3 separate regions of the Homo sapiens genome follow, and all the other regions are linked to region 1. The links are contacts of gene promoters, found by promoter capture Hi-C in human tissues and cell types (Jung and others, 2019). All regions are on one chromosome and are shown on one strand. The core of a region is centred on a gene start or on the middle of the fragment in contact, and the rest is flanking DNA. Distances in the headings are between cores, read along the strand shown.

Region 1 (2,847 bases), core at 220-2,719:
TGGAGGGACAGCTGACAACGAATGCTGCGAAAGACAGTCAATGAAGGGTTCCCCGCCCAGGATTCCCAGGACTCATCCGGAACAACAGGAAAGAGAGAGTGCGAGGAAAGACAGGGGTCTGGCGGCTCTGAATTAGGCTCCGTGGAGCCGGGTTCCAAGGGCAGCTGGAGGAAGTTGTCTGGCAGCACCGACCAGGCGCGGATAGGGCCCTGATCACGGGCCTCGGGCACCTGCGGGTGCCTGGCCACCCACTCTCGAGTGCGCTGCTGCTGCTGCTGCAGGGTCGAATAATGCAGGGAGCTGGGGGTCAGCAGCTCCGGCCGGTCTCCGCGGGGAGCGGGGCCGGGCAGGAGAGCAGGCGGGGAAGCCCTGCTTGTCGCAGCCTCGACGGTGGCGGGAGGCGAGTGAGCCACTGCAGGCACAGGCGCCGGCTCAGCTAGCGCGCCTTCTTCCCGCTCCCTGGAAGCCCCGCGGTCATCCTGGGCAGGCAGAGCCCGTGCCGGCTTCTCCTCCGCGGTGGCCGAGTGCGGGAGTGCGCCGAGCTCTCCCGGCAGTACAGCCAGGTTGTTCTGGAGGCATTCCCAGCAGCAGCGGCCCTGCGTCTTCGCCGCCGCGCAGCTCGCTCTCGCCTGGGCCCCTGCCGCTGCAGCTGCGGGCACCGGCGGCCTCTGTCCGGGACTGCCCTTCGATCCGCCGCCCTTCCCGGGCGCCCTACGGGAGTCGCTGCCCGGGAGTCCATTGCAAGCTGCGTCGGCGGCTCTGGCTGCTGCACCTGCTGGCTCCTCCTCCGGCTCCTTCTCGCGCCGCCGCCGCCTGGGCTGCTGCTGGGGCGGCTCCCCCCGGCGCGCGCCTCGCGGGGAGCAGGGCGCAGCTCCCCCTGCACTGGGGGCGGCCGCGGGCGGCTCGCGGGGTCGCTGCAGCCCCTCCTCCCCCAAAAGGTCCCTGTATCTCCTCTTGAGCACCACGTACTTGGTGCCGTCGGGGTCCTGGCGCACTGCGGCGACCGAGTTGACGAAGCCCTTGAAGAGCTCGCGGCGGTGCTGGTGCTGGCTGGGGGACGCGTCGGGGTCTCGGAGAAAGCTCTTGAAGTGGCTCAGCAAGGCAGCGTTGGTCACGCGGCCCCCAGCCTGGCACAGAAAGTCCAGTAGTGCCTCCTGGCTCAGCTCTCGGGCCATCGCTGCCTTGTCCTCCGCCCCAGAGGTGTCTGAGTCTCGCCCTCCCGGGGCTCTCCCCAGCCAGAGGAAACCCTGGCCGGGCGAGTGTCACCTGCGCCCGGGGCGGCACTAGCCGCCCCCATCAGCCGCGGAGGCCAGCGCTGCCCGCAGCCCGTGAGCGCGCCAGGAGGGCCGTGGGTCCCCTCCGGGTGGCCCCAAGGCTGAGTCCCCGCGGCAGTCTGCGTGAGAGAGGGCGGCTCCGAGGCCGCCCCTGCGCGACTCTAGCCTCTCGCAACGAGTCCTCACAGCGAAAGTTCCCGGGATAGGGCCGAGTCGGTTTCACCTGCGCCCTGGCGGCACCTCCTCCCTGCCTCTGGGGGAAGGGTCAGGCCCGCCTCCTCGTGTCCCTCCGCCCCCTGAGGTCTCCCCCACCCCCTGCCACCCATCCCAGAAGAGTCAGGCCGGAGAGCCAGCCGGTAGGTGAGGTTGGCGGCGAACCGAGCCGGCAGCGAACTGCTCTGCGGCCGGGGAAGTGGAAGGCAGGTAGGCGACCGGCCGTTCCTCTAAGTCTCCGCCACGCAGGAAACAAAAGCGATAGAAGGTCCGTTCCTGTCCTCCGGTGCTTTGATGAGTTCAGGCTGAAGCCGATGGGGGAGGAGGAGAAGCTGCAAGTTAACAGGCAATCTGAGTTATCTTTCTTTATTAACGCTGTAGAGGAGTACTTCAGATTTCTCGAGGCTGTATTGAGGTCCGCAAAACTCACTTTGCATCCAAACTAAATTTTTCTTAATATAGAAATACTTTCTGGGCCGCTTCTCCGGCGCCCCCTCCAAGGGGTCCGAATACATCCAAGTCTATACTGAAAAGAGAAATCACTCTGAAAATTACTACTGGGCAATATTGGTTTGGGACTTTTTCTTTCATACTTGTCTTTCCTTCATACTTGTCTCACATTAAGGTGCTGGAAAAAAAAAATCACTTTGATAGCTTCTTGCCCCCGGCGGCTAAAATGAACTAGGAATTATGTCTCGCCAGTTAAGGTATTTGATGTGTAGCATTAGTTTGCTTTTATTTACTCTAAAATTTGTGAACAGCAGAGATTTGTACAGTGTTTTGTATTGGCTTGGTGAAGTGCTTCCTTTCAGAATGTAAGGTTCAAAATGCAGACTAGAGCTGTCTTTAACAGCACCTTTTCCCCCTAACAGCTGGGATCCCTCTTCCTTTTTCTCTCTCCACATGTTGACCCTTCTGTCTTTGATGTGAGATCCTGGATGTCCCTCACTGTTCCTTATCAGTCCTGTTGACATGCCTGAGATAGTTTTCACTGTCATTATCTCTTTACCTGTTTTAGTTCCAAGCCTTCTCTCATTCTTTTCTTTAACTTGGCCTTCCCATTTCTTTCTGTTACACGACATCCTTGTTTACCTTCGGCCTCTACTGACAGGAAATATGTCTGTTTCTCAGATCCTCTCATGTCCACTGTATTTCCCATTCAAAAACCTCGATTTTCTCCTTCCCTGTAATTTGCCTCTCTTTTCTCATGGACTCTTCTCATCTTTTCACTTTTCCTTTTGCTCTTCTATTTCTGATTACTCATAGTTCCTATACTTCTCGCCAAGAAAGAGTATTGAAAGTATGTGTGTTGGCCCTACAATTGTTGACAAAGACATGTTTTAGCATGGACCAATCTTAG
Region 2 (2,793 bases), core at 267-2,766, 69 kb after region 1:
TATTCTAAATTTGGAACCCTATACACGGTATCTTAGGATTTAAAGGGAATGGTTTTGTGATGGTAAAAGGATCTTGTATCATCGGAAATGCTCTCAGGGCTTGGCTCAGCTGTCTATTGATGTAAAAAGATAATGTGCTTTAGAAAAAGAGCTATATTGAAATTTTCACCAACTTTCTGATGGACAACTGCAAGCTTTCAGCTATAAGAGGCTGCCATTTCTTTTACATGGTTTTGTCTCCAGCAGAGTCTGCCCTTTGTGTTCCCTTAGGCTTTGTTAACTATGTTCCTGGGAGAGAAGGAAAGTCTGTGTTTCATCTCATCATCTGTGTTGCAGTTTAGTCCAGTTTGCTTTATTCCATGGTGAGTGGAGAGAGTAAGTAGTTGGATGGCGCCCTACATTTTAATGTTACCACAACTCAAGATTTATGCTAGTTTTGCAAAGAATTCTCTCATGAAATGAGTTTTATCTCCACTTGACAAGAGACAGTTGAATCCACAGTAGGGCTAAGAAGAAGATTTAGGAAGATATTTGGTCAAATTAGTTATCCTGTGCTTTTTATGCAGGATAGAGACAGGAAACTGTTAAGGCTTGTAAAATGACTATGACCTGATTAGGCAAATATAGCAACTATTTTCAGCAAAGAAGCCACAAGATGAGTATAGCTGACTTTTTTTTTTTTTAATGTATAAAGTTTGGAGATTTTCCAGTGATTTTCTAATAGACCAAATTTAAATCTAACAATAATACATCTTGAAAAAAATTAAAAATTTATGTAATCAGCCAGGCATGGTGGCTCACACCTGTAATTCCCAGCACTTTGGGAGGCCGAGGAAGATAGATCACTTGAGCCCAGGAGGTTGAGACCAGCCCCGGCAACATGGTGAAACCCCATTTCTCAGAAAAAATACAAGAATTAGCTGGGAGGTGGTGGCGCTCACCTGTTGTCCCAGCTACTCCGGTGGCTGAGGTGGGAGGATCGCTTGAGTCTGGGAGTTTCAGGCTGCAGTGAGCCGAGATTGTGCCACTGTACTCCAGCCTGGGAGACAGAGGGAGCCCCTGTCTCAAAAAATATTAAGTAGTCTAGATCTCAGTTAATGCTTATGCTTTATTGTAGTTAGAAAAGTGCTTAACCTGGCCTGTAATCCCAGCACTTTGGGAGGCCGAGGTGGGCAGATCACTTGAGGTCGGGATTTTGAGACCAGCCTGGCCAACATGGCAAAACCGTGTCTCTACTAAAAATACAAAAATTAGCCAGGTGTGGTGGCTCACACCTGTAATCCCAGCTACTTGGGAGGCTGAGGCACGAGAATTGCTTGAGTCCAGGAGGCAGAGGTTTCAGTGAGCCAAGATCATGCCCCTTTACTGCAGCCTGGGTGACAGAGTGAGACTCCATCACAAAAAAGAAAAGAAAAAGTGCTTAACCTGATGTAGCTATAACATTAATAAGAAATAGAAATTTATCTAACTTTCTCTTTAGTTAATGGCCAATGGTTTATACACAGTTTTGGTTAAGCTTCAATTAGGTTCCGTGTTGAATTATTGATGGCATGGTAAGATGATAGTAAGGGAGGCAAATGTGTAAGCCATCTATGAATGAGCTTCATTATTTAGCTTATTTATTTGAGGGAGAAAAAGTACCAAAAAGGCAACCCACATTCTTCAGTTAAACTGCTGGAAAAACACATGCCACCTCTTGGCTCTGACTAGGAAATGGGGGCCTGATGGTGCCATAGTCTTCAGTTTTTCAAAAGAAGAGATGGACATTTGGAATTTGATGTGAAATTTCCACATCTGACAATGTTGGCAACTAAATGTTTTAAAAATACTGTGTGGGTCACATAAACACATTTGCTGGTTGAGTCTGCCAATTTGCAATCTGATTTCCATTGGAAATAAATTTATTTGTTTTTCTTGTATTTGAATAAAGGAACCATTAATAGTTTTTTTTTTTTTGGTATGCCTTTTAGAATGATTTAACATTTGAACAATTTAAGCTTTTTGTGTGTGCAGAAAATGTGGCTGCTTTTAAAATACAAGTGAAGCAAGTGCTTGAACTCTGATATTAAAACATATAGATTGGTTGAGGACAACATCAACATTTTTGAATTGTTTCTGTAACAGGATTTCTCCAATACAGGCCCGGCCATAAGAGAGCAAATTTGGAGAACCAAAAGTTGATGTATGGTGTGAGCAGGCCCACAGCTGAGGGAGTGGGAGGAATTCTAGAGTGTGTGGTAGCCAAGCAAATGTGGCTCCGCAAAAACATATGCTATATATAGTGAATGGGGTTGGATTTTCTATTTTTGGTTGAGTTCCAATGACAGTTAATGGCTGTTCCTATAGGCCATGAAATTATTTATGAATTCGGCAGTGGGACGATATAAAATGCAAGTTGATATAGGTAGAATAAAATTTGTTACCAAATTTCAACAAATTATTAGTGCTAGAGCCAGAAGGGCCTTCAAAGGTCACCTTATAAAGGACCTTCCTTTAAGATGAGGAAACTGAGGCCTGGGGAATTGAGGCTTAAATTTCCCATTAATCCTTATTGAGGCCTAAGGACTTAAGTTGAGGCTTAAATTTCCTGTTAATCCTTCCCTCTACAGCTGAAACCCAGCATCCTCCCTTCTTTTCGGTCTTCCTGCCTATACAAAAATGCATCTTCTACGAACTATTAGTGACAATTAGAGTCTCAGAAAAACAAAAAAGGCAGATGTTTTGTAAGCAGACTATTTAGAAAACATCTTTCTAAAAGGTTGATTTAGGCTGTCTTTCTAATTATTGGAACAT
Region 3 (2,717 bases), core at 209-2,708, 82 kb before region 1:
ACTGATGATGTTGAGCAACTTTTCATATACCTGTTTGTCATTTGTATGTCTTCTTTTGAGAAATATCTATTCACATCTTTTGTCCATTTTAAAAATTAGATTATTAGTTTTTTTTCCTATAGAGCTGTTTGAGTTTCATATATAGTCTGGTTAATAAGTCCTTGTCAGAGGGATAGTTTGCAAATATTTTCTCCTATTGTGTGGATTGTCTCTTCACTTTGTTTATTATTTCCTTTGCTGTGCAGAAGCTTTTTAACTCGATATATTCCCATTTGTCCATTTTTGCCTTGGTGGCCTGTGCTTTTTATTACTCAAGATATCTTCGCTCAGACCAATTTCCTGGAGAGTTTCCCCAATGTTTTCTTTTAGTAGTTTCATAGATTCAGGTATTAGATTTAAGTCTTTAATCCATTTTTATTTGATTTTTGTATATGGTGAGAGATAGGGGTCTAGTTTCATTCTTCTGCATATGAATATCCACTTTCCCCAGCACCATTTATTGAAGAGACTATTTTCTCCCCAGTGTATGTTCTTGGCACCATTGTCAAAATTGAGTTCACCATAGATGTATGGATTTATTTCTAGGTTATCTGTTCCGTTCCACTGGTATATGTGTCTGTTTTTACGCCAATACCATGCTGTTTTGGTTACAATAGCTCTGTAGTATAATTTGAAGTCAGGTAATGAAATTCTTCCACTTTCATTCTTTTTGCTCAGGATGGTTTGGCTCTTTTGGGTATTCTGTGGTTTCATAGAAATTTTAAGATTATTTTTTCTATTTCTGTGAAGAATGACATTGGTATTTTGATAAGGATTGCATTGAATCTGTAAATTGCTTTGGGTGGTATGAACATTTTAACAATATTGATTCTTCCAATCCATGAACATAGAATATCTTTCAATTTTTCTGTGTCTTCTTCAATTTCTTTCATTAATCTTTTGTAGTTTTCATTGTAGAGATCTTTCACTTTTTTGGTTAAGTTTATTCCTAGGTATTTTGTTTGTAGCTATTATAAATGAGATTACCTTCTTGATTTCTTTTTTAAATTATTTGCTGTTGGCATATAGAAATACCACTGACTTTTGTATTTTGTATCCTGCAACTAGACTGAATTTTTTTATCAGTTCTAATAGTTTTTTAGTAGAGTCTTTAGGGTTTTCCAAGTATAATATCATCTTTAAACAAGGATAATTTAATGTCTTCCTTTCCAATTTGGAGGTCCTTTATTTCTTTCCCTTGTGTGATTGCGCTAGCTAGGATTTCCAGTACTATGTTGAATAACAGTGGTGAAAGTGGGCATCCTTCCATCAATGATAGACTGGATAAAGAAAATGTATTATATATACACCATGGAATATTATGCGACCATAAAAAGGAATGAGATCATGTCCTTGGTAGAGATATGGATGAAGCTGGAAGCCATCATTCTCAGCAAACTAACACAGGAACAGAAAAGCAAACACCACATGCTTTCATTCATAAGTGGAGTTGAACAATGAGAACACATGGACACTAGGAGGGGAATAACACACACTGGGCCAGTCCAGGGGGTGCGGTGCAGGGAAGGAGAGCACCAGGACAAATAGCTAATGCATGCGGGGCTGAAAACCTAGATGGTGGGTTGATAGGTGCAGCAAACCACCGTGGCACACATATACCTATACAACCTGCACATTCTGCATGTGTATCCCGGAACTTAAAGTAAAACAAAAATTTTTAAAAAATTAAATAAATAAAGTGGGCATCCTTGTCTTGTTCCAGATTTTAGAGGAAAGGCTTTCAGTTTTTTCCTACTCAGTGTGATACTAGTTGTGGGTCTGTCATATATGGCTTTTGTTGTGTTGAGGTATGTTCCTATTATATCTAGTTTCTTTAGGTTTTTTTTTTTTATCATGAAGGGATATTGAATTTTATTAAATGCTTTTTCAGCATCAATTGAAACAATCATATGGTTTTTATTCTTCATTCTGTTGATATGAGGTATCACATTGATTGATTTGCCTATGTTGTACCATCTTTGCATCCCTGGGATAAATCCCCCTTGGTCATAATGAAGATCTTTTTAATGTTTTGTTGAATTTAGTTTGCTAGTATTTTGTTGAGGATTTTTACATCAATGTTCATCAGGGATATTGGCCTATAGTTTTCTTTTTTTGATTGTCCTTGTCTAGTTTTGGTATCAGGATACTACTGGCCTCACAGAATGAGTTTGGAAGTACTCCTCTTCTATTTTTTGGAATAGTTTGAGTAGAGTTGATATAAGTTCTTTAAATGTTTGGTAAAATTCAGCAGTGAAGCCATTGGGTCCTGGTCTTTGCTAGGAGACTTTTTAATACAACTTCAATCTTGTTACTTGTTATGGGTCTGTTCAGGTTTTGGGTTTCTTCATTGTTCAGTCTTGGTAGGTTATATATGTCTAGGAATTTATTCATTTATTCTGTGTTTTCCAGTTTGTTGGCATAGAGTTGCTCATAGTAGCCTCTAATGATCTTTTGAATTTCTGCAGTACTGGTTGTAATGTCTCCTTTTAATATCTCTGATTTCATTTATTTGGATCATCTCTCCATTTTTGTTTTGTTTTGTTTTTGAGACAAGGTCTCACTCTGTCTCCCAGGATGTAATGCAGTGACATGATCACAGTTCACTGCAGACTCCATCTCTCAGGCTCAAGTTATCCTCACATCTTGACCTCCCGAGTAGCTAGGACTACAGACAC

What was found. The method cuts DNA at HindIII sites, captures the fragments that hold promoters and counts their contacts. A contact is called where the count stands out against the background at its distance.
Region 2: a fragment that was not itself captured here is called in contact with the fragment with the promoter of SOWAHB in region 1 in 4 of the 25 tissues and cell types used here (IMR-90 fibroblasts, liver, mesendoderm cells and 1 more).
Region 3: a fragment that was not itself captured here is called in contact with the fragment with the promoter of SOWAHB in region 1 in 3 of the 25 tissues and cell types used here (dorsolateral prefrontal cortex, mesendoderm cells and spleen).

What each region holds. Positions count from the first base shown.
Region 1 is chr4:76,896,675-76,899,521 of GRCh38, forward strand. SOWAHB (sosondowah ankyrin repeat domain family member B) reads right to left here and starts at 1,470. Exons shown (of 1, transcript NM_001029870.3): 1 at 1-1,470. The coding sequence starts at 1,175. RefSeq lists silencers at 821-930, 1,191-1,490, 1,561-1,630. The HindIII fragment of the contact is 8,540 bases long and covers 1-2,847 here.
Region 2 is chr4:76,965,798-76,968,590 of GRCh38, forward strand. The region is part of intron 1 of SEPTIN11 (septin 11); the gene reads left to right. Among named protein-coding and RNA genes, the nearest start is that of SEPTIN11, 17 kb to the left of the region's middle. The HindIII fragment of the contact is 3,733 bases long and covers 1-2,793 here.
Region 3 is chr4:76,814,851-76,817,567 of GRCh38, forward strand. All of the region lies in intron 1 of LOC124900719 (a long non-coding RNA gene), which reads right to left. Among named protein-coding and RNA genes, the nearest start is that of SHROOM3-AS1, 14 kb to the left of the region's middle. The HindIII fragment of the contact is 6,102 bases long and covers 1-2,717 here.